2 separate regions of the Homo sapiens genome follow, and region 2 is linked to region 1. Evidence: promoter capture Hi-C in human tissues and cell types (Jung and others, 2019). All regions are on one chromosome and are shown on one strand. Each heading gives the region's core, a stretch centred on a gene start or on the middle of the fragment in contact. The rest is flanking DNA. Distances are from core to core; before and after follow the strand shown.

Region 1 (3,617 bases), core at 624-3,123:
ATGCAGGAGATGCTGAAGAGATGCTTGTGGAGGAAAACACCATGCATAGGATAGAAACTGAACATTTGGAGGAAGCAACAAAGATGGAGCTTGCTAAAAGGGACAAGTTGGAGAGAATGGAGTAATTATGGATACATGGAGAAGCAAAGAAGATGGAAATTAGATAAAGAAAAAAATGCAGAAAGGGACCAAGAGAAACGGAAGAAGGGTACCCAAGGCAAGGCAACAGGAAACAGTGAGAGATGAGCAAACCCAGGCAGCTCCCGCCATCCTGCCTCTTTTACTCCCCCATCATCTCCAATCATCCACCCGTATAATCCCACCTGGGATGGTGCAAATCAGTTGTTCCACAACTACACAGGGTTTGGAGCAGTCATGGTCATTTTAGGCACAGAGTCACCCACTTGCACAGAGCATCTTCCACCCTGCTTTCCTCACCCAGTATTCTCCGAAGTCGGTTTTTGTTCTTTGTGGCAAGCTCCTGAAAAGAATTATTGGTCTCTTTGGCCCTTCCACAGGCAAAGCTGAAGAAGTCGGTGCAGGGGGCCACACTTGTGTTCCCAGAGGCCAGGTAATGATCCCGGAGATCCAAACACACAGATGTCTCACAGGGGCCTGTGGGGAAAAGCTCAGAGCTGGGAAAGAAGAGGCAAAAAGACAAGGGCTCCCCCAAGGGGCTAGGCAAAGAACATCAGGTGAGTAACTAAGTGGGGAGCTGATGAAAAAGAAATGGTTAGGATGCAGGGAGGAAGAAGAACCATGGGGACCCCAAGGGTCAGGGTGGGCAGAAGCCCCAGGAGCAGGGACTGGGCCTGGGCCCCAGGGCTGGGGGAGGGCTGACTAGGTTAGGGGGTCTGGGATCTTGCTTACGAGGGCCACAGTTCTGGAAGTTGTAGAACAAAAGCACAGAAAAACAAAGGAGCAGGCCCAAAATCAGGATAGCTGTCAGCACCCGCCTGGCCACTGCCCATGGCCTGCTCCCTTCCACGGGCAGCCTCTCTTCTGGAGTGCTCTGTGGGAGGAACCAAGAGGTGAAAGATACAAGATGGGGGTTGAGAGACAGGGATGGGAAGAAGAGGAGAGAGAATGAATCTGTTGGTGCTACAGTCCCTTTATACAGAAATAATTATCCCAATTCTTCCTAAACCCAGCCCTACTTTAACTCCTGGGAGATGAGAAAACAAGGAATGTCAACTGTTTTGGGTGAGGATGAAGCAGACAGTTAGTAGATGAGTGTTTGTGGGATTTTAGAGCCGAGAGTGACAACATCAGTGTATTCCAGACCCAGGAGAGGAGGCCACTTACCTCTTGGCTCCAGAGAGTTCCCATTCCACCTGCCTGGCTGCGTTCCCTCGGCTCTTCCTCACTTTGGTCCCCACCTTCCTGAAGTGAGTGGAGGGAGAAGGAGGAGAGAGAAGCTGGTTCAGGAAATGGTGCATTGAAGAGAGTTTTATCAGGCCATTTTGATACCCTCGCTGCCTGCCCTGCCCCCACACACATATTTTTATCTCGGAGCAGTGTTCCCAGATGGGCTTCAGAACGAACCTGTCCCCTGAATGTGCCATTTCTCGATCCCTCTCCCATTACCTCCCTCTCTCCCCACCTTTCTACTCTGTAAGCCTTACATTCCCTCCCCTCCAGTGGGGGCAGGACTTTTGCACACAGCCACCCTCACCCCTCCCCGCTAAGCCTCTGACTCCAAAAGGGGACTTACCATCTGTCTATCTTCTGTGGCTCCAGAATCCTTCCTGGTTCCACTCTAGGAGCTGATTCGGAGGACTGGGGTCCAGGAAACACCCCCCGCCCCAGTTCCTTGATCCTGGAGAAGGGGCACTTCTGCTGCTCTTTCGCCTTGTCCCCAGACACACAGGACTGGCCTCTGGGTGGAGCCTGCTTATCAGTGGGGGGCACCCAGGCTTCTCCTCCCCCTTTATCTCAGCTTCTCAGGGGAGAAGAGGGAGGGAGTCTTCACTCCCCAAGCAATCTTGCCCTTGGTCTGCTCCTTTTGTCTTGCACTGTGACTCTGCCCATGAAGTTCCTTTATTTCTAAAATATTCTTCCTTCTCTCATTTCTTCTGTATTAAAAAAAATATGAGGCACAGTAAAATTTTAAAGAGTTTATTTAAGTAAGAAGCAATTCATGAATTGGGGAGCACCAGACCGACAAAGGTTTAGTGTTGCGATGACAAAATGTCAGAGGCAAGCATTTATTGGGAAGTTATAGAAGCAAAATGAAACATTATTTGCTTAGTTTGCAGTTACATAATTGCATTTTTTAGGTAACTTTTTGGAAAGTCCCTAGTCACATAATCATATGTTAGTTGGCTGCTTATCATTGGCTGGGGTTAAGTTTTATTTGTTGTAAGCATTTATCAGAAATTGACCCAAGTTAAGTTTAATTTATGTTTGTAGTTTTAGCAAGAATATGGCTATTTTTAAGGTCTTTGGCTTTGTTTGCCTGGGAATTTTTCAGGCCCAGTCTCCATTTTAATTTTGTTTTCACACCTCTCTGATTGGCTTTTCTGGGATTCATCAATTCCCAGGTCAAATGCCACCTTTCCCAGGAGGCCTCCCAGCTCCATGCCCATTCACACTGTTCCCAAGCATGCTTAATTGTTTCTCTCGGTGTTTCATAGCTCTGCTGGCTGCTGGCAAAGTCATGCATTCAAAAGATCACCCAGCTAGGAGACCCTAATCTGCTAATTATTAGCTCTGTGACAATAAACAAGCCACTTAAACTCTGAGGCAGGTAAGCAAGTTTTGTCATCTGGAAAATGAGGGTAATACTTGCCTATGCCTACCTCATAGGATCTCATGCCTTCTACAAAAGAATAAGGCTTTACTGAGCCCCTCTTTCTTTCATTCTGCTTTCTGTTACACTGATAGCTTGCCTCTTCATCTCCTTAGTGATTGAAAACTATGTCATAGCATGTACAGTGTCTGGTTTTCATTCCTGCCCACCCAAGATGCTTTCTAAATGTTAATAGAAATGAATTGCATTCCAAGCCAGAAATCCTCTTTCTCACATCATATTAAGCCCTTACCTGTGGTCTGAGAGAGGCAAGCACATTTCTGGGGGAAGGTGTTTCAACTCTGTCCTTGTTTCCTCATCCCAGGAAAAAAATAATGTAATTTATTAGGTTAGTCTTGCAAATGATCCCCTGGCGATATTTCCAGATTCCATCAGCACTGTGCTAGGGCCATGGTGCACTTGCCAGGATGAGGGTGGGTGTGGAGAAGTGGAGTAAAGCCATTGTGCCCCCTGGGGCCAGCTGGTCGGGTATCATGAAAGTCATAAAGAAAAGTCAGAACTTCATACATTAGAAAAGAAAGCATTGGGAAAAATAAGGCTTTTGAGGAAAGGTGTGGCAAGATACAATAATATCTAAGAAACGCCGGTGTGGTATTGGGGATCTGGACTGATTGGATAAAAGACAAGAAACAGAGTGGTTAGTTTGGTGTTGCAGGAGTGATGAAGGGAGGGCCCGGCCCAAGGGGATGGCAGAGGGGAGGGAAGTGCGTAGAAAGAAAAATTGTATGGAATAAAGTCATGGCAATGGATTGAATGGAGGAGGGGTTTATGATAGAGCCACAGAGGAGCTCCAAGTTGCATTTCT
Region 2 (3,617 bases), core at 671-3,170, 150 kb before region 1:
ACAGATTTTGAGACCTGGACAGGCATAATTAACTCCTGAACTGATCAAAGTTGGAATCTGCTCCATGTGTCTCTAATGGGCCAACTAGATCTAATTTATCCTCTAAATGCAATATGAGTAATAGGAAACATCACAGAGACTTGGAATCATATGGATTTGGGTTCATTTCACAGCTCTGCTTCTTGCTGGCTTGGGAACTCTCAAGCAAACCCTGATTCTCAATTTTCTTATCTATAAAGTGAAAATAATGATGACAATATCTAAAAATTGTTGAAAGATGCATTTTGCCTGGTGCACTGCAGGCAGGCACTCTTACATATGTTGGCTTTTTTTTTTTTTTTTTTTTTTTTTTTTTTTTGACTCCCTATGTCTGCAGCAAAGATTGGGAGATTTACAATGGCATGGGGTGGAAGGTAGGGGCTGAAGGGATCACGAGCCACAAAAAACACAGTCAAGCCACGAATTCATAATAGTAAGGATTCATAATAGCTAAGCATGGGACTCTGCTAGGTAGCTGCTAAAATGTCATTCTGCTGAAATGGGACAAAAGACCTTCAGATGCCTGGAGGACACCAGCACACCCTTGGAAACTCCTCTTCCCTCTGTCTTTGCCATGCTCTGTATTCTGAAGGATTCATATTCAGAACAATTACTTAGTTTGGGTTGGATGTGGTGGAGCGGTTTGAGATGAAAACCCAGGAAAGAAAGCCGTAAAAGTGGCTGAACAGGGAGAATAAGCTTTAAGCAAATAAAGCATTTGTAACACTTTCCCATTTCATCAGGGCCTAGTGATGTCATATGTTTGTTGTTGTTGCTGATGCTACAGTAACACAATTCCAAGTTAATGTTGGGGTTCTTGCTTCTGACAGTTTTGGCTGTAGCACATTTTTTTGTTTGCATTTGAATACACCATATGTATAGGGGAATGTTTTGTTTTTTATCATTTCAAAATGGAATTAATCCTCTTATAACATTTATTTAAATGATAAATCAAGTGGTAAATATAGTTTGCTTGCAGTGAACATTTGGAACATATGATGAAAAATAGCTATAGCCAACGCAAGAGCAGTTTTCATTGAACAGTTGTTCAATCTCAGTTTTTAATAAATCTGATAATATAATATCTGTGCATGTTAGGATTGCAGAGAGTGAAGCCAAAATAAATATGTGCACACATAGCCTATTCCTCCCTTTCTTTCCATTTCTGTTCTCTTTCCTCTTTGCTTTTGAAATTTTTATTTAGTCCTGAGTGGGGATGGGGTGGAGAGAAAGTGGACAGTGGGTGGTGGGAGATACAGGGAGAAAGAATGAGAATTGCTCTTGTTCTCAAGGGTACCGCATCACGTTTTCCTCTGGCTGGCAGTCTTTAACACCAGCGTATCCTATGAGACCTGACTTCACTCATCAGCTGCATCAGCTCAGTGTCATTACCACATGTAGACAGCAATGTAATCCTCCTTCTTAGAGATGCTGCAGCAGATTGGAGGGTGAAGAGATGTATCAGTCAGATCAGAGTAACCAGCTGGCTCCTGGCTCCTGATCATTGTCACAGCTCAGTAGCTGGAAGCTCCTTCCATATGGCTGATGCCTTTAAAAAAATCTCCTCAATCTCCATCCCCATCTGCAATACTGTTTAGTTATTCAATCATTTAAGTCATTCATGTATTGAAAAGAGGATGGGGATATGATCCCTCTGCTCTGTGGCAGTAGATCTACTAATGGGAGAGTCCTGGCCGCACATCTGGCCTGGGTCTGGAGGTGCCCTACGGAATTGAAAGCTGGCTGGAACTGTCATCTTAACATGTCCTGGTCATCTTAACGTGTCCACCTCTCTGGCAAGCCTCTTTTCAAGTCTTTTTGTTACCATCTTCAGCTTTTTCCCTCCATACTAGATTCTTAATGAATTGCTGCCAACAAGAGAAAGCTTTATACATGAAGAGAATGGCAATAAGAACTAACTCGTCTTTTTAATTTTAAAACTGGTATATATTCCTATATAATAGGAATGGAAGATACTTGCAAAGCCTATTTGTTCCTCTACAGAAGAGTTAAAAATTACCTGGGCTAATGGAAAGAAGGGAGAGTCAGCCAATTAGATGCTCCTGAATGCCCTGAATTGTGACTTACCTCTTCTTATCCACATCCTGATCAAGGAAAGGGATGAGAGAGAGGTGGAGAGAGAAGAAATGGAAATTCAAAAGTTTTGACGGCAGAGGAAAATTGTGCTTATTTCCAGAATGAGACGAACAAGGTCCTGGGTCCCTACATGTCATACTGGCTAGAGACTGGTAAGTAGAAATGACTTGTGGTCAGCAGAATAATGGCTCCCAAGGATGTCCACATTCTAATCCCCAGAATCTGTGCATGTGTTAGATTACATGGCAAAGGGGAATTAAGGTTGAAGATGGAATTAAGGTTTCTAATTGGATGCCCTTAGAACAGGGAGAGTAGTCAGAATTAATCAGGTGTGCCCCATACAATCACAAGCATCTTCAACATGGAAGAAGGAAGCAGAAGAGAGTCAAAGAAAGAGATGTGGACATGGAAGCAGGCAAGAGAGATGCCATGCTGCTGGCCCTGGAGGTAGAAGGGGGCATGAGCTAAGGAATGAAGGTGGCCTCTAGAAGCTAGGAAAGGTAAGGAAATGGGTTCTCTTCTAGAGCCCTCAGGGAAGAATGCAGCCTAGCTGACAGCTTGATTTTAACTCGGTGAAACCTGTGTCAGACTTCAGAGTTACAGAACTGTAAGATAATAAGTTTGTGTTGTTTTAAGCCACTAAGTCTGTAGTAATTTATTAGAGCAGCAGTGGAAAACATACATGGCTCTAGAATGTGTCTTAACAGAGGGACCTGAGGTAGTCTCCAAGAATCCCCAAAGATCTCAGGATAGATCAGGAATAGCCATTTTCTCATTCACAGGGAAACAGATTAACTGAGAGAAGCCATCAAGCCTGAAGAGACATCGTGTTTGAAATGTGTAAGGCACAGTGTACCCGCCGTGGATCAAAACAACCTGAAGGACAGACAGACAGACACACCGAGGATCAGCAGATATCAGTGGGGACAGGTGCTGATGATGGTGCAAATGAGAGTCATGAAGGAAAGTTAAATGATGACCAAAGACCAAGTACCTTCCCCACAATGCTTTGACAAGCGCTTTTATAAGCACCCTGGAATTTAGACACTACCCGGGGAGAAAAGGAAAGGGAGACAAGCATGAATTGTCTGAGAAACCCCTGAATTAATCATGTGTACCCCAATGCAACAAGGATCTAGATATAGAATAATTTTAATTATAGAAAACAAAATTATATTTTACCCACCCATATTTGATGCCCATGAATTTCACATCTACCTTACGTGCACATAAAATTCAAGCTTAGATAGACGGAAAACAAAAAATCAAGAAGCAATATTTGCCTTCTAATAACTTATCTATTGGAGGAGGTAAAAGATAGAAAAGTAGTTCAGATGACAAATACTAAAAGAGTTAGGAACTTCTGCTTCCACTTACGATGAAGGAACTTGTACTCAATCCATCCACTTTGTAATTCTCCTTGAGCTGCTGTAATAAAGTACCACAAACTGGGTGACTTAAAACAACAGAATTTATTGTCT

The links. The method cuts DNA at HindIII sites, captures the fragments that hold promoters and counts their contacts. A contact is called where the count stands out against the background at its distance.
Region 2: a contact is called between a fragment that was not itself captured here and the fragment with the promoter of KEL in region 1, in 2 of the 25 tissues and cell types used here (spleen and thymus).

What each region holds. Positions count from the first base shown.
Region 1 is chr7:142,960,490-142,964,106 of GRCh38, forward strand. KEL (Kell metallo-endopeptidase (Kell blood group)) reads right to left here and starts at 1,874. Exons shown (of 19, transcript NM_000420.3): 1 at 1,715-1,874; 2 at 1,306-1,383; 3 at 871-1,012; 4 at 439-615. The coding sequence starts at 1,717. RefSeq lists a silencer at 1,638-1,833. The HindIII fragment of the contact is 18,554 bases long and covers 1-3,617 here.
Region 2 is chr7:142,813,838-142,817,454 of GRCh38, forward strand. LOC105375541 (a long non-coding RNA gene) reads left to right here and starts at 360. Exons shown (of 2, transcript XR_001745392.2): 1 at 360-2,288; 2 at 2,919-3,599. The HindIII fragment of the contact is 4,106 bases long and covers 1-3,617 here.